7 separate regions of the Homo sapiens genome follow, and all the other regions are linked to region 1. Evidence: promoter capture Hi-C in 16 types of primary human blood cells and fetal thymus (Javierre and others, 2016). All regions are on one chromosome and are shown on one strand. The core of a region is centred on a gene start or on the middle of the fragment in contact, and the rest is flanking DNA. Distances in the headings are between cores, read along the strand shown. Region 1 holds the start of PPP3CA (protein phosphatase 3 catalytic subunit alpha). Region 2 overlaps CENPE (centromere protein E). Region 3 holds the start of SLC9B2 (solute carrier family 9 member B2). Region 4 holds the start of CISD2 (CDGSH iron sulfur domain 2). Region 5 overlaps UBE2D3-AS1 (UBE2D3 antisense RNA 1). Region 6 has its middle 100 kb from the start of DDIT4L-AS1. Region 7 overlaps LOC107986232 (a long non-coding RNA gene).

What was found. Contacts are between HindIII fragments. The CHiCAGO score rates a contact against its expected background, and 5 or more counts as called.
Region 2: a contact is called between a fragment that was not itself captured here and the fragment with the promoter of PPP3CA in region 1, in 1 of 17 cell types (fetal thymus). The highest score is 6.1, in fetal thymus.
Region 3: a fragment that was not itself captured here is called in contact with the fragment with the promoter of PPP3CA in region 1 in 4 of 17 cell types (fetal thymus, naive CD4 T cells, activated CD4 T cells and 1 more); the score reaches 11.8 in fetal thymus.
Region 4: the fragment with the promoter of CISD2 here is called in contact with the fragment with the promoter of PPP3CA in region 1 in 1 of 17 cell types (fetal thymus); the score reaches 6.6 in fetal thymus.
Region 5: a fragment that was not itself captured here is called in contact with the fragment with the promoter of PPP3CA in region 1 in 1 of 17 cell types (fetal thymus); the score reaches 6.2 in fetal thymus.
Region 6: a fragment that was not itself captured here is called in contact with the fragment with the promoter of PPP3CA in region 1 in 1 of 17 cell types (naive CD8 T cells); the score reaches 6.7 in naive CD8 T cells.
Region 7: a contact is called between a fragment that was not itself captured here and the fragment with the promoter of PPP3CA in region 1, in 1 of 17 cell types (naive CD8 T cells). The highest score is 5.6, in naive CD8 T cells.

Annotation. Positions count from the first base shown.
Region 1 is chr4:101,345,962-101,349,706 of GRCh38, forward strand. PPP3CA (protein phosphatase 3 catalytic subunit alpha) reads right to left here and starts at 1,565. Exons shown (of 14, transcript NM_000944.5): 1 at 778-1,565. The coding sequence starts at 835. It overlaps PPP3CA-DT (PPP3CA divergent transcript), which reads left to right and starts at 1,816. Exons shown (of 2, transcript NR_033874.1): 1 at 1,816-2,048; 2 at 2,363-2,922. RefSeq lists silencers at 1-340, 361-720, 1,191-1,800. The HindIII fragment of the contact is 5,765 bases long and covers 1-3,745 here.
Region 2 is chr4:103,102,897-103,106,641 of GRCh38, forward strand. CENPE (centromere protein E) reads right to left here. Exons shown (of 49, transcript NM_001813.3): 49 at 2,915-3,420. The coding sequence ends at 3,326. Among named protein-coding and RNA genes, the nearest start is that of BDH2, 4.9 kb to the left of the region's middle. The HindIII fragment of the contact is 4,331 bases long and covers 1-3,745 here.
Region 3 is chr4:103,075,262-103,079,006 of GRCh38, forward strand. SLC9B2 (solute carrier family 9 member B2) reads right to left here and starts at 1,500. Exons shown (of 12, transcript NM_178833.7): 1 at 923-1,500. BDH2 (3-hydroxybutyrate dehydrogenase 2) reads right to left here. Exons shown (of 10, transcript NM_020139.4): 10 at 2,331-3,745. RefSeq lists a silencer at 1,160-1,269 and an enhancer at 1,380-1,499. The HindIII fragment of the contact is 645 bases long and covers 1,454-2,098 here.
Region 4 is chr4:102,866,955-102,870,699 of GRCh38, forward strand. It overlaps CISD2 (CDGSH iron sulfur domain 2), which reads left to right and starts at 2,038. Exons shown (of 3, transcript NM_001008388.5): 1 at 2,038-2,233. The coding sequence starts at 2,131. It also overlaps a transcript of UBE2D3 not described here. RefSeq lists an enhancer at 1,489-1,628 and silencers at 1,859-2,148, 2,179-2,298. The HindIII fragment of the contact is 11,662 bases long and covers 880-3,745 here.
Region 5 is chr4:102,828,803-102,832,547 of GRCh38, forward strand. All of the region lies in intron 1 of UBE2D3-AS1 (UBE2D3 antisense RNA 1), which reads left to right. It also overlaps a transcript of UBE2D3 not described here. Among named protein-coding and RNA genes, the nearest start is that of UBE2D3-AS1, 2.6 kb to the left of the region's middle. RefSeq lists enhancers at 470-529, 570-649. The HindIII fragment of the contact is 4,037 bases long and covers 1-3,745 here.
Region 6 is chr4:100,086,220-100,089,964 of GRCh38, forward strand. No RefSeq gene overlaps it. Among named protein-coding and RNA genes, the nearest start is that of DDIT4L-AS1, 100 kb to the right of the region's middle. The HindIII fragment of the contact is 714 bases long and covers 1,506-2,219 here.
Region 7 is chr4:100,102,879-100,106,623 of GRCh38, forward strand. LOC107986232 (a long non-coding RNA gene) reads left to right here. Exons shown (of 3, transcript XR_001741515.2): 2 at 1-4; 3 at 934-1,584. Among named protein-coding and RNA genes, the nearest start is that of DDIT4L-AS1, 85 kb to the right of the region's middle. The HindIII fragment of the contact is 1,712 bases long and covers 1,304-3,015 here.

The DNA.
Region 1 (3,745 bases), core at 315-2,814:
GCAAGAGAGGCTGGAGAAGTGGTTTTCGTGTCTCTCCCCGGGGCGTGCGGGGGAAATCCCGGGGCGGCAACGGCTGGTGCTCTCAGGTCGTTCCCCGCCTCCCGCGCCCCCCGCGGCCACCCTCCAGCCAGCGACCGCCCCCGCCCCCGCCCCGCGCGGAAGGAAGCGCCGGGCTCCCCCCACGCTCTCCCGCTCTCTCGCGAGTCCTGTGCAGGCCCTTCCAGGGGGAGGGGGAGGGGGAGGGGGGCGCGGAGGGAATTGCTGCAATGGAGCTCCAAGACAACCCTGCCCAAGTGAGGCAGTCGGTGGAAAGCCACGGCCACATAAAAATGCCGTATTAATTTTTAAAAAGCCATCAATCACCCCTCCCTCTGCAGAAGAAAACCATAAACCCGATCCCATGCAAGCCTGTGAGCAGAGCCACCCACTTCCTATTTCTGTCACAGCAGCTACACCCTACCAGCAACCACCCCCCGGGCGCCCCCTCCCACCACCGCCACCCCCGCCGCCACCTCCCCGCGGCTCAGCCATTTGCCAACTGACGCCCCCGTCAATAAAAATGCCCCAAGTGAGGCTGGGTGGGACGCGTGGGGGAAGGGCGCCGCGGGGGCGGGGGGTTCGCGGGGTTCGCGGGTTGCACAATATCCTAGAAGGTCCGCGGCTGGAGCGGACAGAGGAGAACCTGGGGCGGGGGAGGGGAGGAAAGGCGAGGCGAGGCAAGCTGCCCTGGCGCCTGCGGCACACGGTGCACCCAGGCCACCGCGGCGCTCCGCTTACCTTTCACCACCCTGTCGGTCGTCGACAACTTGGGATCAATTGCCTTGGGCTCGGACATCTCCAGCTGCCGGAGGACAGCGACGCGCTGCTCGTCCGTCCGACTGCACACCCCGACCGGACCGGCGGGCCAGACACTCAACGCCGCCGCCGCCGCCGCCGCCGCCGCGCTGCAAACCGCTCGGCTGGAGGTCTAGGCTCTGAGCTGGCTTTAAAGTTGCTGCCTTTTCCGCGCGTCCCTCCTCCGCCGCCGCCGCCTTCACTCCTCCTCCGCCGCTGCCGCCAGCCCCGCCGACTCGCTCCGGGCTGCGCGTGTGTGGTGGTTATTTATTTATTTTCTGAGCACGCCTCCCGGTTCTTCTTTTATTCTTGGGGGAAGGGGGATGGGGAGGAGAAGCGCACACACGAGCACCCACCCCGGCACGGAGACCCAGCACCGCGGAATGGAGCCCCACGCGCGCACACACGGCCAGGATTAAGACCGATCACATGGGGAAGGCCGGGGGCGAGGGAGGAGAGGCAGGGCCGCCGATGTCAGTGCCACCAGCCGCACCTTGGCGTCCCCGGCGGCGGAGAGGCGGCCGCCGCTGCTGCCGCTGCTGCTGCCGCTGCCGCTGTTGCTGCTGCCGCTGCCCCTGCTTCTCCACACAGAGCGCCGCCGCTGGTGCCGCGGCCGCCGGAGACGTCCCGCCGCCGCGATCGCCCGCGCTCGCCTCTGCCTCCCCGCGCCGCTCCTCCACTCACCAAGGCACAGCCGCCGAGCTCGGCAGACACAGTCCCGGGCACAACCTACCCCCCTCCGCCGCCGCCGCCGCCGCCAACACCGCGCCCGCCTCCGCCTCCTCCCCTTCCTCCTCCCGGCCCCCGCCTCTTGCGCGCCTGCAGCCTCCTCCTCCCCACTGAGCCCGCCCCCGACCTCCCGCCCCGACGCCGGAGTTCCTCGCGTTCATTGGCTAGAGGGCGCATCACTCAGTGCCAGGTGGCGGCCTCCCCGCTTGTCCCGCCTCCCGCTCCTCCTCATTGTCCCCGCCCCTTGCTCTGTTTTCTTCCAGCTGCCGGACCAGCGGGCCTGCCGCCTCTACGGACCAGTCCCTGCTCAGGTGTCACTTTTGCTGGCAGGCCGAGATTAGGGCAGGAGAGTGGGCAAGGCGTCGCGGCCAGGAGGAGAAGGGCTCTACCACGCCACCCTCCTTTGGCCTCCGAACGCGGACCCCGCACACACACACCCGCGCCTCTTTGGCAAGCGTGCCTTGTCGGCTGGGTTAAGCCGCAGTGTGAGTAGCCAAGTGCAGAGGGTGTCTCCGGGTGTGTGCGTGGCCCACAAGAGGGCAAGAAGAGAGAAGGCGGGGATAGGAGGGAAGAGGGTGGGGGTGAGAGGCAGCCCTGAGAGGGCGGAGGAAGGAAGAGGCTGGGAGCTCGGCGCCCGCGGCGCAGCTGCCGTCGCTGCCGCAGCTGTCCAGGGAGGATCGCCAAAACGGCGACGAATAAACAACTTACCTTGCGGAGAAGAGCTACGACTGCGATGCGGTGTACGGTTGTTTTTGCTTTTGCGTTGGCGGCTTAGGGGCTGTTACTGTGTCCCACCCAGGCGTGCACACCGAGCGGCGGGGCGCTGTGGAACGCGGGAGCGGACTAGCGGAGGAGGATGCGGACCAAGCCCCAGCGACCCAGGGCAACTCGGAGCTACCTCGGGCAGCCCTGCGGGTCTCCGAGGAGAACCGAGGAGACGGGAGAAACATGGGAGAGGGTGGCCTTTTCCCTGTTCACACACACATGCACGCAGCCACTGGCCGGGACAGTTGACACCCATCTTCCTTCCCTGCTCCTTCCAGTCATTCTACACCCGCTTGGTGCTGCCAGTGCGGGCAGGGCCTTGGAGCCCAAAGCGGATCCCCACACTTGTCCCTACGGTCGGAAGGAAAGTAGAGGAGAGAAAGTCAGGCGCGGCAGGGCTAAGAGCAATAGTGGCCCAAATGTTCCTGGCCCGCCTGCTGCGCCACAGAGTCTGAAAAGCGGGTCTCCGTCTACCAGAAGGTGACCTCCACACAGCCCCTCTCCCCGACCAACTGCAGCACCCAAGGACTGGCAACGTGGTTGGAGCTTTTGGGGGGAATTATGAAGAAATCTGAATAAATTTCTCACCCTTCATGTTTCCTGTTTTATTTCCAAAGTCCTTCAGTATCAGGTTTTTCCTATTTCCTCAATTGGACCACGGGTCCAATAAAAGGTTTAAAATACACACACACACACACACACACACACACACACACAAAGAAAACAAAAACAAAAAAAAAAGTTTAGGGAGCTGGGAGATGAAGCCAAAAGAAATGTTTTGGAGACAAGGATTAGATTAAAGCTCAAACTTGAAAATCAATTTTGAGTAAGAGACTGATTGTGCTGCAGCGTGACTTTGATGTGGACTGCACGGAATAGAAACACACACTAGATACCTCTGTGGAGGCCTAGCAAAAGGAGCAGACGCAGGGTGTGTCCCACCAAGATAGGGAGGCTGCCACTGGCACTGAGATTCTGCTGCCCAATTTCCAACCCCAGGATACTGGGTGGCAATTAGACAATTCATTCAATAAAGATATTTTCTGTACTCCTTTTATTTATATGCCAGACTTTGTGGTGGGTAATTAGGTGGGGAGGGAGTGTATTTGAAAATTGTCCTTGCCCTCAATAAAGCCTAAAATTTTCAGAGAACATAAAATTATGAGCTCTGAGAGGTCACTGTAATCTCAGGAAGGGGTTGTTGGAAACAGCCTCCTGAGCACGGGCAGAGCTAGTTGCTAAGGCAGATTTGGGAAGTTGGTCCCTGGCCAGATGGCACACAGGGAGCGATGCCAAGACCTGTGGGTGAAGAGGGCCTGCTTCAGAAAGACCAGGAAACCATGTCCAGGGATGCTCATTTCCAAGGCCAAGACATTCTCTCCTACATATTAGAAAAAAATGAAGTTCCCACCTTTAT
Region 2 (3,745 bases), core at 383-2,882, 1.8 Mb after region 1:
GGTTTTGGGGTTCCTGGAATTGGCTCTTAGTCTGATTAGATTTGAAAATGCTAAAGGCTCTACTCTTTGAGATGGGGTCACACTCTTGAACAGGTTGGAGTGCAGTGGCACCATCATAGCTGACTGTAGCCTTGAATACCTGGGCTCAGGCCATCCTCCTGCCTCAGCCCTCCAAATTGTTTTTTTTTGGTAGAGATGAGGTCTCAGTATGTAGCCTAGGCTGGTCTCAAACTCCTGGTCTCAAGTGCTCCTCCTGCCTCAGTTTCCCAAAGTGTTGAGATTACAGGGATGAGTCACTGCGCCCAGCCTGGCTCTCCTTTTAATAGTACAGAGAGCACTGATTGTCCAAGAAATGAACTGTTCATAGAGGTATGCAAAATGTCTGCATTGGATACTCCTAATCAACCACTTCTTAGAGGTGAGGAACTTAAGTGACTCTATATATAATACTTTTTTTTTTTTTTCCGAGACAGAGTCTTGCTCTGTCGCCCAGGCTGGAGTGCAGTGGCATGATCTCGGCTCACTGCAACCTCTGCCTCCTGGGTTCAAGCGATTCTTCTGCCTCAGCCTCTCGAATAGCTGGGATTACAGGCACACACCACCATGCCTGGCTAATTTTTGTATTCTAGTAGAGACGGGGTTTCACCATGTTGGCCACGCTGGTCTCAAACTCTTGACCTTGTGATCCGCCTGCCTCAGCCTCCCTAAGTGCTGGGATTACAGGTGTGAGCCACTGTGCCCGGCCCTATAATACTTTCAAATATTTATGGAAAACTAAGAAATATACCAATGTTGGTTGGTTGCTTCTAATATTGTTGGGCAAAATTATTTAAAAAAAAAAAGGATGACTTCAGGGATTCAAATTCATGGCTCAAGCTCCACATAAGTAACCTAAGAGCTTATAGGCGTGCCCTGAAAGAGGATCTTCTCTCCTGTAGACATGAGGCTAAAATTGCTGAAAATCAAACACCAGTCTTCATCATTTGATTGGTGCAATTACAAAAGGCCTCAGTGTGTCTACTGGTAAAATAAGCCACAGTGACTGGGAGAGTGAGATTCTATAAGTTGGGATGGGGACGTGTGGGAAGACCCTGAAGCCAGGAACATTGAGTTTTTTTTTTTTTTTTTTTTTTTCAGTTTCACCCTGTTGGCCAGGTTGGAGTGCAATGGCATGATCTCGGCTCACTACAACGTTGACTTCCAGGGCTCAAGTGATCCTCCCACCTCAGCACCCCCGAGTAGCTGAGACTATGGCCATAAGCCACCATGCCAGGCTAATTTTTGTATTTTTTGTAGAGACGGGGTTTCACTATGTTGCCCAGGCTGGTCACGAACTGCTAGGCTCAAGAGTCCCACACCTCAGCCTCCCAAAGTGCTGGGATTACAGGTGTGAGCCACCATGCCTGGCCAGTTCCTACATTCTGATGAGTTTTTTTTTTTACCAGCTGTAGTGGCCTCTCCAACCTCATTGGGGTTGGTAATGGCCTTTCCACCTTTGTCTGAAGGGTTAACCCTGCATTGCCTGAGGAAATAATAATGGCCTCCCCTGAGGCAGCTGCCAAGCAAGACAATGCTGATTCTCCTCAGGACCTACCCCCACCACCCCTCTATGCTCCTAGACCTATAACTAGACTCAAGTCCCAGCAGATCCCTAATGTGAGGTACAAAGTGTGGCCCATGAGGAGCTGCATCACAATCAAAAGAACCACTTGAGTTTTCTAACTTATATAAGCAGAAATCTGAGAAAAATGTGTGGGGATATTAAGGGTGTGGGATAATGGTGGCAGCAAAAGGGACAGAGCTTATTTGAAGAAATAATGGCCACAAACTTCCCAAATTTGAGGAATAAAATGGACACCCAAATTCAAAAGTTAAGCAATATTCTACTAGGCTGGCTACCTGACAACTAGATTTTTAATGGCTTTAATGTAGTTTTATCAATCAGGTAAACAACCACTACTTTGGGTTACTTTTGTTCAGTGGAGAAGCAGACATAAAGAATCAAACCTGCAGGCATGTTAGTGTTTTGTTTGGATAAGGGTGGAAAGCAGAAGACAGACTCTCAAGGTACAGGTCTGGGGGAAAAGATTTTAGGAAGGGATAGTTTCCCCTTAGTCTTTGTTAATTCCTTTGGTGGTATGTTAAGATACGGAGAAATATCCAATCCACAGACTTTGAAATACTAGATATGATGCAATCAATAATCTCTCCCTTTGAATGAATCTTACCAAAGAGCCGAGAATGACTTGAAATCACTTTACCTCTGTTCTATAACCTAATGCAACTTGTTTTAAGTGGTTTTTCAAAGTCATATGGTATAAAAGTAATATCAAATATCCTCTAAAACCATAGTTCTTAGATTTTTACAGGATCACGGGCCCCTCTAAGAATATGATAAAACAAAGTATAAACCCCAGTATCCCCTCCCCCCAAATAAATCCACACAAAAAAGTTCATAAAAAATTTCAAAAATTTTACAGATTACAAGAAGTCCATCCATATATGCTTTATCTATCTGTGGGGACTCCAGGTTTAGAAAACTTTACTTTGATAAAAACTCTGGTACTGTTTCCTTATGTCTACAATGAAGAGGTAGAATAAATGATCTATAGGTTCCTCCAGGCTGGGAGTGAGGGGCAATGAAAAACAAAGTCTATAATAAACCAACCAATTTAGAGAGTTTGTATAGGGATTGGGATAGGTAGGTTACCAGAAATGTGAGAAAGAACTTCTGTGGTTATTACAGTAAAAGGAATATTAGAACTGGAAAGTTAAGAGGACATAGCCTCTGCTATCCTTTAAGAATTTAAATCCAGATCCAGAAAACTTGTGTATATTTTCATAGCAAAATACTGAGTCAACAAGAGAGACTACCTCACCAAGAAACCATTAACATTATATAGAAGAGCGGTGATTCAGAACTACTAAACATTTATTGAATGTGTAAGGTATTAAAAACATTTACAATTTTGTTAATAAAATGATGTTTTATATTAATGTATGTATTATGCTTTGGAATATGCTAAGTCATGTAGATAACTTTACATTTCTTTCAATAACTTTATTCTTTACAAAATATACAAATAAATAAAACAATTCAACTTTTAAAAGTATTACCATATGCAAGAAGAAGGTATTGCTATCACCATTCTAAATTACCACAATGCATTCATTTCCTGTTCCCTTATCTTTCAACTCTAGTGGCAAAGTAAAGACTGAATTGAAATTAAGCTGCACTACAACATCATTACCAGGGATAGACACATAAACAAAGTCATTTCCAAATAAGGAATGCTGGATCTCCAGAGAAGTGACAAAGAGGAGTCTACTGAGTTTTGCACTCAGGCACATCCTTGCCTGAGGAGGCGTGCCAAGGACCTGGCTGAGAATCCACACTCTCTGCTCCTGCATTTTGCACCTCTGAGAAAGAAAATGAAAACAACATTCATCCTATTACAAAAATACACAAAAACCAAGCACAGCTGGAAGTGGAAAGGAGGTTAAGACAGGAGAGATGTGAAGAATGAAAAATGGCAACGTGATTCACCGTGTTTGGTCATGAAGATGGTGTATTTCACCTCAGAGTTGGAGAAGTTTACTCCCCATTTTGTCCTAAAATGAACTATTAGACAAACCATAGTTAAACTGAGAGGTAATAAAGTTTTATTTGGAATTCTTCAATTTGAAATTCAAAGTGAATCAAACACGGGCTGATTGAGTTTTCTTTTGTCCTGTTTTTCAAAAT
Region 3 (3,745 bases), core at 526-3,025, 1.7 Mb after region 1:
GCCTCAGCCTCCGGAATAGCTGGAATTACGGGCGTGCACCACCATGCCCAGCTAATTTTTATATTTTTAGTAGAGATGGGGTTTTACCATGTTGGCTAGGCTGGTCTCGAACTCCTGACCTCAGGTGATATGCCCACCTCGGCCTCACAAAGCCTTAACAAGTTTCTCTGGTGTGATAGGCACAAGAGTAACAAAGATGACTAAGATGCAGTCTGCCCTTTAAGGGATGGTCAGAGACTGATATGTGTTTACCAAAATCGTTTACTCTTCTGCCTGGGTCCATAGTACATTTCCAGTCTCCCTTGCAGGTCAGTGTGGCATGTGACTGAAGTCTGGTCAATGGCATGTGGACATAAATAGTATGTGATTTCCAGTCCTCACCCATAAGAAACAATCCTCATGCAATCCTCTAGTAGCTTTTCTTTTTCTGTCCGTTGCCTGGAAACTAAGGACTCCAAGGTCTTAGGGGATAGCAAAGCCATAATATAAAAGGAGTTTGGGTTCCTGAATAATTGAGTAGAAGGCCAACAGCTGAACACGTGAATGGACTTGACATGAACGAGAAATAAGCCTGAACTATGTTTAGTTACTGAGATGTTTTACTTTATCTCTTACAGCAGCTACTGCTGTCTTAAGGTTATATTCTTCAGTCAATAGCATACGATGATTCTTAGCACCTCGAGGATGCTAACCCAGTCCACAAAGGCAACACCCCCTCTGGTTAATCTGAGAACTAAAATAAAAGCAAGCAAGAAAACCCACGCCAACACCTTACAACAGTAAACAGACACGCGCCCGTCACCGGGTGTACAAACAGAAAAGGCTGGGCCCCTCGCTCGCGTCTCCGGTCCAGCAGGCCTACAGGGTACCCGCCGCTGGCGCTGGGTTTATTTTTACCCTTAGTGTCTCTGGGGCCTCTCACCTGGCAGTCTCCGGCGAAGTCGACCAGGCTCCGTCTGAACGATTAGGAAAGGGGCTGTGGGGGAGGCGGCGGAGCCCGGTCTAGCCACCGCGCTCTGGGGTTCCCGATTCGCGCATCTTCCCAGGCTGAGCCGGGAGGCTGCGTTGACTGCAGATAAACGGTCTCAGGGCGCGGCACCGCGTGTAGTCGGCCCCGCCTTTCGCACGAACCCGCTGGGCGACACCGCGCAGGGAGGTCCGACCCGTCGGCGCCGGTACAGGCTCCGGAGTAAGCATGGGTTGGTCCGGGGCCCGCAGCGGCAGCCCCGTGTGCCCTCCGCCGGGTTTCAGGTCCGGCGGCGCGGGTGCAGAGCCGCGTGCGATGCCTGGTGCGCGTGGCTTCCCCCGGAAAGGTGGCGCCAGGCCGACCATGGGCCCACGTCCCGGGGCCTCGGAGCGGCACCGCGCGGTCTTTCAGCTGCTTATCCTCCCTGGGCGGGTCCGCAGGCTTCTGGGGCCAGGACCAGCGAGCTCCCGGGAAAGCTTCCCGGAAAGCTTACCCAGAGAGCGCGGACCCAGGCGCCGAGTCTTCCCGGAGATGACGAGACACCGCGAGAGGAGCACAGCGCAGGCTCCTCGGGACTCCGCGGCGCAGGCCGGGCAGCCCGTTACTTGTTTTATCGTTCCCGAAACCAACCTCTAAGTTGTCTATCAGTCCTCCACCTTTTAGCTGTACCTCTTAGAAGTGTCTTCTCAGCTGCGGTGGGAAGATAGGATTCTTTCTTAAGGTGACCAATTAAATGGCCGGATAAAAGACTTGTTCTGCCCCCCTTTATCGCTTAACACCTGCCCTTCTTGTTGTATTTTAGATTTTTAACCCTTCTATCAGCAGTGTGATTCTATTTCATTTAATTCTCATTTCATGTTTGTGTCTTCCTTTTCTCTGTATTTCCTCTTGTGTGTGTTAAGACGCGCGCACCCCTTACCTGTTTTTCACTCCTGTAAGCAAGTGCCAATCTTAATCACCGCTTTTCAAGCAAGGGAGATTATCCTCAAATTTCTCCACCAGTCAGAAACCATTCATTCTTGTCTCTCAGGTCCTCTTTTGTGATGAACCTATTGGATAGGTTCCATCCAATACCCTTCTTCAGATCATCTGAAATGATTATTTTCCTAAACGGAACTCTTCCTCTCCTAAAGCTTGTAAAAATTTCTAGTGACATTCAGCTTCCTCTTACCACAGGAATGACATATATTTTTCCTTTTAGTCATATGTACTTCATTAATATATCACCTGATTTGATTAACATGACTTTGGAGAACATTGAATTTTTTGGCTAGATTTTACTTCGTTTTTATTGCTGATAGTGTTTATAAAAATGTTTTATAGTTTATGGTCGGCTGTGAGAAAGACTAACTCAGATCATTTGTTAATGTTGGAGCCCATTTTGTAGAATTCGTTGTGCATTTATTTAAAATTTATTTGTTCATAGCTATACATATATTATACATGTATACCTGCTCACAGCATAAAGTATTTCATGACATACTTGTAAGAGTCAGTGTTCTATGAATTCACTAGAGAAGTTACAGCATTTTGATTATGATACACGAAAAGAAACCCAAGTCATTTAGCTTAACTCCTTAATTTCATAAACCAGAAAACTAAAATCCAAGATAGATTGGGTGACTTGGTCTAGATCACAAACCAAAGTTAGCCATAATTCGGTAGTGTAGTGCCCGGTCCAAAACCTCATAGATAATCTTATAATCAATGGACTCTTTCTGAATGCTAGTCAAAATGTCCTTTTGTGTGAATTTTAATGTACCGTCATCAACTGCATGATATTCTTCCCCATACACAAAGTGTTATCTTTTTGTTGTCCATTTCAGAATTTTCCATGTTAATATTAAAGTTCTAGGAAAAAAGGCTAAGAATCACTGCACATTTATTGAGTATCTCAGTGTGCATCATACCATTTGGTCATTTGAGGTTGCAACAAGTAAAAAACAAACATAAAACCCTTAAATTAAAATAAAAACAAAAAACTTTGCCCTGACAATGTTACAGAATTAACATCCATAAATTTACTTTTCTTGAAAAATTTATTTTCTTTAATTTCGTTTGTTTCCTGTTACATAATTTATATTTAAATTTACATTTATTTATCCAGAAACTATGTCCAAATTTTATGTCCTCTTTTCTGTTATCCTGGAGTTTGGTGAAGAAATCTGTACTTAATTTAGAAAAGAAATCCCTCTAACTGACAATATTGTTAGCTAACTATATATTTCTTAGGCCCATGTCAAATATCATTGCTTATTTTAATAAAGATTGTTTAGTTAGACTAAGAAAATAGTAAATAATAAGGGATGGCATCCGTTAAGTATAAACACTGGATTATTTTTCATAACATAACAGGTCAACAATATCGTTTTGAGGCTGAACTCCTTTACTCCTTTTACTGTAAGCTATTGAAGCCAAACTCCTTCCTACCTTTGTTCATTTATGATGGTGTAAAATTTTAAAATTAGGATCTACATACAGAACAATGCAGAATTATATAAAAATATTTGAATATTGAAAAATGAAGTGGAAATTATTATTATTATTTAGGTACAGGGTCTTGCTCTGTCACCCTGGAGTGCAGTGGCATGATTACAGCTCACTGCAGCCTCAAACTCTTGGGCTCAAGTAATCCTCCTGCCTTAGCCTCTGTTAACCATGCTGGTCCTGAACTCCTGGCCGCAAGTGATCCTCCTGCCTTGGCCTCCCAAAGTGCAGGAATTATAGGCATGAGCTACCATGCCTAGTCCTGAAATTACTATCTTCTTCCTTAACCCC
Region 4 (3,745 bases), core at 788-3,287, 1.5 Mb after region 1:
TCATCTTCAGGATAAAAAAGCTCCAGGGTTTACCTCCAAACTCTCTCTAAAGGAAATCCCATCAACCTTTTAAACATCACTTTGTATACACCATCTTCTATACTGCCCTAGCTCAAAAACATGAACCTGTATCTAAACGTGTTTGTAGAATTTCCATTGTAAGTTTTACTTTAACAATTTTGAACAATTATAATGATAGAAAATTATTTAATCTAGATTTTGGTCAACTCTATTACTGATATTCTTTTTTAGTGAAGGACAATCACAAACACTAAATTTATACAGTCCAGAGAATGAAAGATTGCTTTAAAAAATTCCTTCCTTTTCTCACTGTAAAATAAAAATACCAAGGGGAAAAATGGAAAGTATTTATTATAACTGGCTGTTACACTGTCATACACAATGAAATACTGGACCATTAGCAGTTCGTTATTATATGTTGTTAAGTGTAGAACTGTAAATAATGAGGCATATTATTAAGATATCACACACATTATCCAATCAGCAAGTGCACAACTTCGGACATTTTGACTTCAGCCAAAATATGAAACAAAGTCATAGCAAGAAAGTTATTTCAAGGGAGTGAAATTTTCTCCTCTTACCCTTCAAATCTTTTAGAGATATTAATAAAAACAACTATCCAGCCTGGGCGATATAATGGGACTCCATCTACATACACACAAAAATTTTTAAAATTCGTTGGGTGTGGCAGCACACGCCTGTAAACCCAGCTACTTGGAAGGCTGAGGCAGAAGGATCCCTTAAGCCGGAGTTAGAGTCTGCGGTGAGCTATGATCTGACCACTGCACTACAGCCTGGGCGATAGAGCGAAACCTTGTAACAACAACAACAACAACAAAATTAAAACCTTCAAGATCAAGCTTGCCCAACAGGATGGCTTTGAATGCCACTCAATGCAAATCTGTAAACTTTCTTAAAACTTTATGAAAAAAAATTTTTTTTTAGCTCATTAGCTACCATTAGTGTTAGTGTATTTATGTGTGGCCCAAGACAATTCTTCTTCCAGTGTGGCCTAGGGAAGCCATAAGGACCCCCTGCGCTAGACTTCAGCAGAAGCCTTGTAACATAAAGAAAACCATACATAAGGCTTTAGATTCTTTTTTTTTTTTTTTTTTGTGACGGAGTCTTGCTCTGTCTCCCAGGCTAGAGTGCAGTGGCACATTCTCGGCTCACTGCAACCTCCGCCTCCCTGGTTCAAGCGATTCTCCTGCCTCAGTCTCCCGAGTAGCTGGGACAGGCACCTGCCACCGCGCCCGGCTAATTTTTCTATTTTTAGTAGAGACGGGGTTTCACCATCTTGACCTGGCTGGCCTCGAACTCCTGACCTCGTGATCCACCCGCCTCGGCCTCCCTAAGTGCTGGGATTACAGACGTGAGCCACCGCGCCCGGCCAGCTTTGGATTCTTTTACCACTTTCCCGAAGGAAAAGGAACTGAAAATATCTAAGGAAGGACTACTACGAATCTTCTCTGAGTGGCAAAAACCAGAGGTTTTTGGAGCTAGGGCTGCAGTTAAGTTGCCAAGGGGCAGAGATGTAAACAGTTCCTGGTTTAGTTAAAATATTTTAATTTTTATTTTTTTAAGCCTGGCCTTTGGGTGAAGGAGTAAAATTAGGCACTGGGGTCTGGGTAGGGGGAGGATACTCATGGGCGAGTATGCAACCCTAGGGCCACAGCACCCAAACTGTAGGGGAAGAGGCGGGGCGAGAGGGGACGAAGTAGAGACAGCAAGAGACTCACTTTTGAAAGGCACTTTCGGTTAGAAAGCATTCTCACATGCTTATCTCATCGCACACAGTATCCTTTCTGCTGGTCTCCAGCATCTACAGACGTTAAAGGCCCAAGAGGAGGGCCACCTTCACACGAGATTCCGAGGAGGGCCTCGCTACCCGCCAGTTCCCGCGCCTCGGCAGTCCGCCGCGAGCGTACGTCACTCGCCCGCCGCCAATCGGCGCCCGGCAGGTCACCTCTCCTCCCAGGGCCCGCCGCCCCGCCCGCCGCCCAGGCCGAGGCCGCCAGTGCCCGCCGGCCGCTTCCGCTCCCGGCGCAGGCGCGGCAGCTTGGCCAGAGCGGAGGGGGCTCGGGAGAGGAGTGGACGCCGCTGGCCAGGATGGTGCTGGAGAGCGTGGCCCGTATCGTGAAGGTGCAGCTCCCTGCATATCTGAAGCGGCTCCCAGTCCCTGAAAGCATTACCGGGTTCGCTAGGCTCACAGGTAATCCTCCCCCATCAGCCAGTCCCCATCCTTGCACGTTCGCCAAGCGGGGGAAGGAGGCGTAAAAATCCTAGGGCCAAGGGGCGGGACGGAGCTCGGCGCCTGGCACGTGATCCCCGCGCGCAGAGGAAGGTGGGCGCGCGCCGACGCAGCTGCCTGGGGAACGCCTGTGAGGCAGTCTCCGGGTGCTTGATGCCCCAGGGTCTTTTGTCCTCGGAGTTGTCTCCGGTGTCATTCCGTGGCAAGATACCAGGTTTTTGCAGAGAAGGTGCTGAGTTGGGAACAGGCCAGTCTCTTTCATCTCCTGTCCTGCTCATCGCTCTCTGTAGCGTACTTGTTTATTTTAAAGCGGGCTAAGTCGTCGTTATCTAAGGCCTCATGTAACAGGCAGCCCCAGCTACCGGCTGGGTTGTACCCTCAGCATGTGGGTGGGAGTGTGTGGGAGAGAAATATAGACTTACACGTAACACGTATATGACCGTTTTATTTAGTAACGAAATTAGGAGATAACCTCCATTCCCTCAGGTTAGAATTGACCTATCATAGGTGGCATTTGAGGTCATCTCCGTTTCTACGGTCCCGGGGCCCGCTGCGGTAACTTAAGTTGGAAGAAAGATACCTTACCCAAGAAAGTATTCGAAGGCCGGTATGAGGAGTGAAATCTTAGAAAATGAAATTTAGTGAATATATGTAACGTTCTATACTTAAGGACCCTCACTTAACCCACACAACTCATGAGGATTTCACATCTAAAGGATGAAAATCTCCAGAATGCAGTCAACACTTGGGAGATTGTGTTGAGTTATGAGCATTTCATTGTAAGGGGGATATTTCTAAACGGAACTCAGACCGAGTAGGATGGTGAAGGAATCAGCAAGTATTGAACTCCTATGTCCTAGGTTATCAGGGAGTGCAAACATGAATTAAGATAATTCTGAGGTAAATAGGGTTGCTTCGCCGGGAACGTTCTAAAGATCTGTAGTACCTGACCTAAAATACAGCAATCGCACAGCTGTCTGGTAGAAGAAAAATAAGATTTGTGTAGACTAAAATATAGAACTGATAACAAATTAACCAAATTAGTGAAGGTTATTGGGAGGTGAATTTCAGTCTAAGGAAGATTTTTTTTTAAATTAAAGAATGCTTTCCCCAAACAAATGTGGTGCTTCAGTGATAGCCCCTCTCAAAGATGAAAAAAACAAACAAAAAGACTCTGGTGGTGGGTGGTCGATAGATTTAGAAGGGATAAACTAGATGACAAATTCTCTTCCAAATCTAGAGATTCATTGAATTATGGTCAGACAGACGCTCTGTTGAGTGGATTGTGAGATTTTAATATTTTTTAAATATTAAGAGTTTTAGTAGAAAACATGCAATTGAATAGAAAGCATGGTAACAATAATAAACATTAAAAAGGAACATTAAACATCAGAAGCAATGCAAAAGTAAAATAAAATGAAAAACGTTTCACATCAAGTGTTTATAAACATCAGATCTTTTGATCCTACCAGT
Region 5 (3,745 bases), core at 579-3,078, 1.5 Mb after region 1:
TGGAGACGGCAGTTATGCTCTCTAGTGTATCCTTCAGGCAAAAGAAAGACCTTAATTTTTATGAGGAATTTAAAAGTGGGTAAGCACTGACCAGCTTAAGGTTTTTTAACATTCCTTAATGACCCCAGTTACCGAAGTGGAGATCTTCAATTACTTGGAAAAATAAACTTGTTTTAAAAATACACTTAATTTGAAAACTGTTGCAGAAAGTTTTACCTAATAAAAACTTAACACGTCAACAATGATGAATATAAGTAGTCTAATGTATACTGTTCAAGTGACCATGTAGTGTCACTAGTGAAGCAGTGCTTCTCAAACTAGTGTCCATAGGAACCACCTGGGGTTTTGTTGAAAATGCGACTTTGATTTGGTAGGGCAGTGGTGGAGCCTGAGAGCCTACATTTCTAACTAGCTCCCAGGTGATACAGATTTTTCTCGTCTGAACCACCCCGTGAGTAGCAAAGCACTGAAGTGCTTACCTCATGGCCTAACTGCTCATGAGGCTCACCTCAGTAACACCTCTGGCCCCTCCCTCCTCCCTGAATAATCTGTGTTCTCTCTCATAGCTAGCCAGATATACTAAAAGCACAGGACTAGGCATGAAGATGGAGGGAGGAACCCAGATTAGTTATTGCTTCCCATTTGCTTGATATTGGCCTGGTTAGTTATCTTCTAACCCCGTTTCTTCACCGCTAAAGTAAGTAATAATGACTGTCCTTTCTCACAGGGTGATTGTGTGGTTAAAGTGTCATAATATATGTGAAAGGACACTGGAGACTCTACAGTGCTGTATAAATGTCAGTTATTAAAGTAACCAGTCAGACATTAACTGGCCATAGTGTGAAACAAATGTATAGTAGTAATAGTGGCCACGCCTGTAATCCCAGCACTTTGGGAGGCTGAGACGGGTGGATCATATGAGATCAGGAGTTCGAGACCAGCCTGGCCAAAACAGTGAAACCCCATCTCTACTAAAAATACAAAAAATTAGCTGGGCGTAGTGGCGGGCGCCTGTAATCCCAGCTGCTTGGGAGGCTGAGGCCGGAGAATCGCTTGAGCCTGGAAGGCGGAGGTTGCGGTGGGCCAAGATCACTGCGACAGAGTGAGACCCTGTCTCAAAAAAAAACAAGAACAAAAAACAAAACTAATATATATGGAGTTCTAGATTATCCATGCTTATAAAGGCAAGTGATTGTGTAATCACAAACTCATTATTGTTAGGCAGTGAAGTAAATTCATTGGTTGATTGGGCTTTCTGTTTACAAGTTTGTATTTGCATAAGTGGACTTACATTTCTGCTTATATTTTGCCATGGTTAAAATCAAAAGAAACATAGCCTAGAAGCATTTTGATGCCTTAGGATAAAGCAGGCTAAGATTAAGTTAAATTTTAAAACATTATTCATGTACCTGTTGTTACAGAGAGCCCACTTTACAGTTGCAAATAAAGTTAAAACATTTTCATTCATTTAACTTACTTGAATTACAATGGTAGAGATGTCCTCATTTGAAACAAGAAAGGAAAATAATCATGTTTTTTATATTGCAGTCGGAAATAATGCTAACAAGAAAAAAATTATGGCTGTAAATACTGAAAGAAAAATTTACATTTAGAAATTAATAAAGGTACAAAAATGTTGAAAATTTAATTAACTAAAAATAATCCCTTCCTTAATAAATACTATTTTGAAGTCCTAAAAACTTTGTAAATATAGTAGATCAGATTATCTTGCATGAATTGACATAAAACATGAGAAAATAGAAAGGATCAAGAAAATTAAAGCTGGGCTGGTGGCTTACGCCTGTAATCCCAGCACTTTGTGAGGCCAAGGTGGAACGATCACTTGAGCCCAGGAGTTTGAGACCAGCCTGGATAACATAGGGTGACCCAGTCTCTACAAAAATAATAAAACAATTAGCTGAGCATGGTGGTACACGCCTATGGTCCCAGCTACTTGGGAGGCTGAGGTGGGAGGATTGCCTCAGCCTGGGAGGTTGAGGCTGCAGTGAGCTGTGATTGTGCCACTATACTCAAGCCTGTGATGGAGCAAGACCCTGTCTCAGAGAAAATTACTAGTAAATGGGCAATTAATCTACCAATCTGAATAATGGTGGTGTGCCAGGGTCTTATTACATGAATTTTTCAGTGAGGCCACGTTATTATAATAACTTGAGAGTAAGGGGTTAATTAGAATGTATTGATGAATAAACATAATTAACAGATTTTATATATATGTACTTAATATTGTATCTATGTTTTCATGTATCTTTAATTTTGTTACAGAATATTATAACTTGCCAAAGACACTGGCTCTAGTACAGTGTATACCATTTTATTAGTTTAATTAAATTGTAAATGCTACGGTCCAGATTTTATATTCAGAATGCTCATTTACATATTCTGCCTGGACCAAGTAATTTGGAGCCCAGGTCAACCAAATGTTATTTTACATTGTTTGCACAAAAATCAAATTGATTTCTATACTTAACAATTCAGAATCTCATTAAGTCAAATTAATATGGTTTAAGAAAGTGTACTTTATTTCATGCTAAGATGTCATTTTGGCCTTAATAAGGCTTTTGGCATGTAATGAAGCATGCACAAATCTTTGAGATAAAAATAGAGCATTTTTCCACACAAAAACATATATATACACAAATGTTCAGAGTAGGGCTATTCTACTTTTTAGTAGAAACAACTCAAATGTCCATCAGCTGATGAATGGATAAAGAAGATGTGATATATGTGTATAATGGAATATTATTATTATTATAAGGAACAAAGTACTAATACATGTTACAAAATGTATCTTGAAGCCTTAAAACATTCTGTCAAGTGAAAGAGCCAGACACAAAAGGCCACATACTGTTTGATTCTGTTTATGTGAAATGACCACAATAGTGCATTCTGTCTTCCAAAAAGCTGGTTTACTTACAAACACAGGTTAAAAAAATATATATTTGTAATACTGCTTTTGGTGTAGGGTGAGGCACGATAAAGAGACTTTCATTCGGTTTGTCAATCAGTGATACTTAGGTCTGAATAGGCAAGTGGGAGTCTTTCAGGTTTAGGACAAAGAATGTTAATGTAGTAGAGATCTGTTGATAGAGTCACTCCTAGTTTTCTATTTATTTAAAAAACATCGAATTACTATTAGGTGCTAGACACTGAAGATACATAAAAGACACAGATGTCATCTATAAGAAAGTCTCTTGAGGAGACCAGTAAGCATCAGACAACATCATAGAGTGGGTTCAGTGACATAAATGTGTGCACAGAGCACTATTAATGTACTGAACTCAGCTGGCGGTGGTCAGGGAAAGTTTCTCTGAGGAAGAGAGTTGTATTAAAACAAATGAAAAAAAGGGAGCAAGGCAAAGTTGGAAAAAAATTGTGAGGGAGGCTCCTAGGAAGAGGAAACAGCATGCAAAGTCTCAGAGATGACTTGATAAGTTTTTAAAACTAGAAAAACTTTGGCTGCAGTATTGCGAGGTTGAGGTGGCGGGGGGAGCGGCAAGGAGAGAATGAGAAGACAGAAAAGATGAGGAGACAAGATAGATTTGAAAGACATGACTGGAGATCTTGAGGGCCTTTTATTTTGAAGGGGATGGGATAGAATGGAGAAATTGAATTTTTAACAAAAATGGCCTGATCAGATTTGATGGCAAAAAGGTAACTGTGATAGCAATGTTGAAGCATGTGCCCAAAGTATGTATTGGGATGGAGACTAGAGGCAAGAAAAACA
Region 6 (3,745 bases), core at 613-3,112, 1.3 Mb before region 1:
AAATTGGCCATAAGAAGGGATAACAGGCCCTAACCAAGTCAGAAACCCAGCAGTGCAGGCATTACATTTTAGAGCTTTAACATAATTCTTGACTTCACGTCCCACATCTTTGTGTGAGGCTTGGGATCTCAAGGTTCTGGGAAGCCCCACTGCTGTGGTTTTGCAGGGTGCAGGCCATGTGGCTGCTCTCACAGGTTGGAGTTGAGAGAGTGTAGCTTTTCTAGGTAAAGGGTGCAAGCTGCCAGTGAATCTACCATTCTGCAACTCCACTAGGCCTCCCCTTCCTACAACTCCACTAGGCAGTGCCCTGGTGGGGATGCTGTGTGTGGGCTCCAAACCCACATTTCCCCTTAGTATTGCCCTAATAGTGCTTCTCTATGAGGGCTCCGCTCCTATGGCAGGCTTCTGCTGGGCACCCAGGCATTTCCATACATCTTCTGAAATCTAGGTGGAAGCCACAAAGCCTCCCTCATGCTTGCATTCTGAGCATCTGCAGGCTTAACATCATATGGCAGCCACCAAGGCTTATGGCTTGCACCCTCCAGAATGGCGGTCCAAGCTGAACCCGGCTTCTTTGAGCTGAAGCTGAAACTAGACTAGTTGGAATGTGGGGTGCAGTGCCCCAAGGCTGCTCAGGGGAGGGGGCCCTGGGCCTGGCCACCAACATCATGCTTTCCTCCTAGGCCTCTGGGCCTGTGTGGGGAGGCTGCCCTGAAAACTTCTGAAATGCCTTCAAAGCCCTTCATCCATTGTCTTGGATATTACTAGCACTTGGCCTCCCTTTTAGTCATGCGAATCTCTACAACATAGCCTGCCTGGATTCCTTTCCTGAAAATGCTTTTGCTTTCTTTACCACATGGCCAGGAGGCAAATTTTTCCATTTTTTTGCTCTGCTTCCCTTTTCATTATAAATTCCAACTTTAAGTCATTTCTTCACTCCTGTATCTAATCATAGGTTGTTGGAAGCATCCAGTTCACATCTTGGACCACTTTGCTGCTTATAAATTTCTTCTGCCAAATATCTTAGGTCATCACTCTTAAATTCGAACTTCCACAGATCTCTAGGTCATGAATCCAACCCAACCACATTCTTTGCTAGGGTGTAACATGGGTGACCTTAACTCCAGTTCCCAATAAGTTCCTCACTCCCGTCTTCCTTACTTCATCAGGCTCATTTTCACTCCATATTTCGATCAGCACTTTGGTCACAACCACTTAACAGCTTTCTAAGTCGTTCCAAACTTTCCTTCATCTTCCTGTCTTCTGAGTCCTTCAAACTCTTCCAACCTCTGCCCATTACTAAAAGCCACTTTCACATTTTCAGGTATCTTTATAGCAACATCCCTCTGCTCAGTACTAATTTTCTGTGTTAGTCAGTTTCTGCATTGCTATAAAGGAATATCTGAAACTAGGTAACTTGTAAAGAAAAGAGGTTTAATTGGCTCACAGTTTTGCAGACTGTACAAGCATGGCTCCAGAATCTGCTTCTAGTGAGGGTCTTAGGAAGCTTATAATCACGGCAGAAGGCAAAGGGAGAGCAGATGATGTCACATGGTGCGAGTGGGAGCAAGAGAGAGAGAAGGGGGAGGTCCCAGAGTCTTTTAAACAATCACATCTCACATGAACCAACTGAGCAAGAACTCACTCATCACCAAGGGGATGGTACTAAACCGTTCATGAAGGATCTGCTCCCGTGATCCAATCTCCTCCTACCAGGCCCCACCTCCAACACTGGGCATTATTTCAACATGAGATTGGAAGGGGACAAACATCCAAGCCATATCACCAGCTAACAGGAAGTTCTATTTGGCTGCCTCCTTGACTTTATTTTAGCACAGCTGTGAAGCAACTGTAGCATGTTACACAGGGTAGGGATTCTTAAAAAATATTTAGGCAAAGTGTGAAAACATAAACTATTGTATAATGAGTTAAAAAATAATTCAGATAATCAATATATATCGTTCAGTTAAGTAAATCCTCTTTCCTTGAGGAATGGCTCTCAATTAAAGGGAGACAGGAATCCAGGAGGAAGGAGAAAACATTCTATGTCCTTGTTTAGTTTATGTACATCCTGATGAACTAATGGCTGTACTTTGAAACGTAGAAGGCCCTGGATAAAACATTCTCTACGTTAATGTAATTTCACATTTCCTAGGCTACATCAGCTTAGGGCAGTGGTTTTCAAATTTTCTCAGTTGCAAAACAGTTTCTTAGGCAAAAGCTTACATGGAAGCTATAATATAGAAAGTTGGAGGGCATATAGCTGCTCTGATTAACAGAGATGTCAGGGACAAAGAACCCTGCCTGAGTCTCCAGCCCCGCTCCAGCTGTGTGTGGCTCCCGCACAGGTTTTAGTGGCACTCCTTAGGGTTCCAAGGAGTATAGTTTGAAAAACAATTTTGGGGATTTTAAAGGCACAAAGTAATGGTTGCAAAATGGCACTTTTTTTTCTGGCTTTACCCTGACCTCTTGAAAAAGTCCAATGCCCCTAAGATTCTTCTCAAAATTTTCTGGATATTTCTGGATGGAGTCAGCTAAAATGTCACCTACTCTTGCCTAATCATCCTGTCTGGAGTTGCATCCCTCAATTATGTTTTAAATATTGGTAAGTGTTTCTATTTAAAATTTTTAAATTTCAATAGCCTTTGGGGTATAGGTGGTTTTTGGTTATGTGGATGAATTGTGTAGTGCTGAAGTCTGAGATTTTAGTGCACCTGTCACCTGAGTAATGTATATTGTACCCAATATGTAGTTTTTTTATTCCTCACCCTCCTCCCACCCTTCCCGTTCTGAGTCTCCAGAGTTCCTTATTCCACTCTGTATACCTTCGTGTGCCCATAGTTTAGCTCTCACTTATAAGTGAGAACATACAGTTTTTGGTTTTCTATTCCTGAGTTACTTCACTTAGAATAGTGGCTTCCAGTTCCATCCAAGTTGCTGCAAAAGACATTGTTTTGTTCTTTTTTAATGGCTGAATAGTATTCCATGGTGTATTTATACCACATATTCTTTATCCTCTCATAAGTTGATGGGCACTTAGGTTGGTTTTGTACCTTTGCAATCATGAATTGTGCTGCAATAAACATGCCTGCAAGTGTTTTTTGTTTGTTTGTTTGTTTTGTTTTGTTTTGTTTTTGATACAGAGTCTCGCTCTGTCGCCCAGGCTGGAGTGCAGTGACCTGATCTCGGCTCACTGCAAGCTCCGCCTCCCAGGTTCACGCCATTCTCCTGCCTCAGCCTCCCGAGTAGCTGGGACTACAGGCGCCCGCCACTAAGCCCGGCTAATTTATTTTTGTATTTTTAGTAGAGATGGGGTTTCACCGTGTTAGCCAGAATGGTCTCGATCTCCTGACCTCGTGATCCGCCCATCTTGGCTTCCCAAAGTGCTGGGATTACAGGCGTGAGCCACTGCACCTGGCAAAGGGTTTTTTTGATATAATGATTTCTTTTCTTTTGAGTAGATACCCAGTAGTGGGATTTCTTGATTAAATGGTAGATCTACTTTTAGTTCTTTAAGAAATCTCCATTCTGTTTTCTATAGAGGTTGTACTAATTTACATTCCTACCAGCAGTGTAAACGTGCTCCCTTTTCACCACATCACCACATTCACACCAGCATCTATTGTTTTTTGACTTTTTAATAGTGGCCATTCTGGCAGGGGTAAGGTGGTATTTCATTGTGGTTTTAATTTGTGTTTCCCTGATGATTCGTGATATTGGACAGTTTTTCATGTTTGTTGGCCAT
Region 7 (3,745 bases), core at 910-3,409, 1.2 Mb before region 1:
CTTGGTGATGACTATACATTGTGTCTTCTTCCACATATCCATATAAATCTCATACATATTCATTTTTACTTTAAAATTTTATATTTGTATATTGAAATATATTTACTTAAGAAGAACATACTAAGTGCCTATGTGTGGCTTTGTATTATGTCAGCTTCACTAAACTGGAAGTATGTTTTCCAGACTTCACTTTCCTGTATGTTTCAGGGTAAGGGTTGTCCACAAGAGAAATTTTCATAAGATTTGGGAAACAGAAAAGAAGCACAGCCATTTTTGCATGCTCTGAAATTTGGTGCATGGTGCCAGTCATGACGGCAACCTGTGCATGCTGTCACTGATCTGCTTGGCCTACCTGGGTGGCCAGGTGGATAGCACCTGGGTCTGCAGCTTCTCCAGTTCTTGCTGGATTGTCTGCTCTGGACATTCTGTTTCCTAGCTCTATGTCAATGGGGATTAGCTTCTCTTGCAGGTTACCTGTGTTGTCGAGGTTGGAGGTAGTGAGAGACAGATACTGGTTCCAGTCTATCCTTGCTCTCTCCCACTTTGCATCCAGCTGTTCTTCCCAACTAGTGTTCCAGCTTGCATATTGCAATCTCAGGCCCCACATCAGATGCAGAGGAAAGATCTAGCTACTTTATTTTACATTAGTCATAGTAGTACTGCTTTTCTGGTTGATCCCTGACTGATATAGCCTATATATGTCAGACACTGTGCTGGGTTTGGAGATAGCAATGGTGAGCCAGTTCAGTATTGACCTTTTTTATAGAGCTTAAAGTCTAACTTAGGATATTATTATTATAATACAAAAGAAATAACATGTTATTTTTAATTTTCAATCAAGCTGAGGTTATTTAATAATGCTTTCATTTTTATAACCCTTTTTTACTTTTCAAAGAGCTTTCTTGTTATTTGCTCACTGTCACATCTTTGCAGCTGTGGAGAAGACTAAGCAGAGATTTAAGAATACTCCTATCCCAAGGTTGCACAATTTGTAAGTGGCAGGAATGTAGTCTTCTGATTCATATTCCAGTGCTTGTCTTAATGTGAAAGTTATGAAAATAAATCAAATTTTGTACTTTCATGGAGCAAATGTTACTATCAGATCAGTTGTGTCTACATTTCACCAAAATATTTACCAATCCAGAAAAAAAAATAAGCCAATATGAGATACTTGGCACCACGTAGGAAACCACATTGGATTTCTCAGTTTTCAAACAATTATCCTGATGTCAAGAAGATGTGACCCCAGAAATATGAAAAAAATAAAATGTCAGTTGTCTTGGTGACCTTTCTTTTGATGCTAAGCTTCATATAATAGGCATCTACAGGTTTCACTTTTAGACTGTGTTCTTCTACAGAGTGGCAGGAGAGATGCTGAAATTTGTGCCAATATTTCACTGGAGGTGATCATTTTCAATCTATGTACATAGGGACACAGCTGGAGTGACAGACACTTCTGCCAATTATGACACCTAGATGGATTTTGACAGAAAAATGACAGTCATGACAGCATTTCCTCCAGAGCCTAAAAACTGTGAGTAGGTCAGAAGAGTTATCCAGTAGGCTGTAGATTCTGTCTCCTTCTAAGCAACCAAAAGCAGGGTTGTTCCCCTCTGTGATGTCATTCCCTGAGAGTCAGAGTATGTGTCTATCATCCTTAATGTGGTTTTAAAGACATTTTATTATAAAGTTAATATATACTGGTTTGTAAAATTAAACTCTGTAGAAGGTTGTGGAGAAAAAAATATCTCCTATTTCCCCACCCCTATTTCTACTTCCCAGAGTTAGTCATTCTCAAAAATGTATATATATACACATGTATATGTATGTGTATATATATACATTTTTGAGAATGACTAACTCTGGGAAGTAGAAATAGGGGTGGGGAATATATATATGTATATATGTATATATATGTATATATGTGTATATATGTATATATGTATATATGTGTATATGTATATATGTATATATGTGTATATGTATATATGTATATATGTGTATATGTATATATGTATATATGTGTATATGTATATATGCTCTTTGTATGTGGGATTCATTCTTCTCCCTGCATCTCAGCTCTAACCTCCTCTCCTCAGAGAGGCCTTGCCTGACCACTCACTGTACAAGGTAATTCCCCAGTTATATTCAGTCTCCTCATGCTGTTTATTTCCCTCATAGCCTGAATCACAATGGCTCTAATTTGTTCTTTCCCATGGTCTTTCTCACTAGAATGTAAGCTCTACAAAGAAAGGGTGCTTGTCTGGCTTGCTTACTGCAATTTCTTCTCTAATCAAGATGTTGTTAAGGGTGTCATTCATTGCATTATGCAAAGTCTTCTTTATTTCTTTCTGGATTTTTTTTTTTTTTTGATGGAGTTTCGCTCTTGTCACCCAGGCTGGAGTGCAATGGTGCGATCTTGGCTTACTGCAACCTCCGCCTCCTGGGTTCAAGTGATCTCCTGCCTCAGCCTCCTTAGTAGCTGGGATTACAGGCACCCACCACCACAACAGGCTAATTTTTGTATTTTTAATAGAGATGGGGTTTCACCATGTTGACCAGACTGGTCTTGAACTCCTGACCTCAAGTGACCCAACCGGCTCGGGCTTCCAGAGTGCTGGGATTACAGATGAGAGCCACCATGCCTGGCCCATTCACTGCAATTTCTTAGTGCTTGTCAGAAGCATTCAATAAATATTTGCTGAATAAATTGTTGAATGAATGGGATCCTGATAAATTTCTTAGTTCCAGATGCTGCTGAGGATAGGCCTCGGTACTTGTGTACTGTAGGATAATTCTGTGCCCTTGTATTGAACCCCTCCTTCTGAGCAAGTTTGAATGGGAGTTCTATAAAATCAAACATGTTTTGATAATTTTTCCCACTAATTTATATATAACTATGAGAGAAACATTTAATAAATATATAAATATTTGCCCAAAGGAACACTGTTGCACATACAAAGATATGGCACTATCAAATACAACCATTGAAGGCAGGCAGCTTTCCCAAGTGGAAGCTTACAGTTGCTCGTTGGATGATATACAAAATTCCTAATTAGGCATATAAAAAATGGTGCTGTTGTTTCAACGTTCAGTTTGTTTGAAAGTTCAATGCACAAAGTCATATACCCCCAAGGCTGTGTATGTCAAGTTAACCTGACAGAGAGCTATTCTGTTTGTGCCAACTTTATGAATTTCCTCTAAACAGCAGTGATTTGTCTAAAAAACATCTCCTATCTGTATGTATGCAGAAAAGCTGTGCTCACTGAGATGTCTAGATTTATTGTTGATGCATTATTATGGTCTTGAACTCCTGGGCTCAAGTGATCCTCCTACCTCGGCCTCCCAAAGTGCTGAGATTACATGCATGAGCCACCATGCCTGGACAATTTTTTTTTTTGCTTATGAATTCACCTTATTTTATATATAAGGCAAATGATATAATTTTGCACTTCACGTTTTAACAATCTCTTTATTTATTTACTGTATTGAATTTAAGCTGGACATATGGGATTGCCCATTTTACAAGTAAAGCTCAAGAAGCTAAATGCTTTCCAGAGTTTACAATGAGTGAGGGACAAACACTGGGATGAGGGCCTCCAACCATCCAACCATCCAACCATCTCATCAAAAGAGTAATTAAAAATTATTCATGCAGGATTTGCAAAGAAAATAGAAAAACTGGGTTCTGCGCCCTTAATCCAACACCTTCCTAAAGGATATAAAAGAGTTGAGGTTGAAGAAA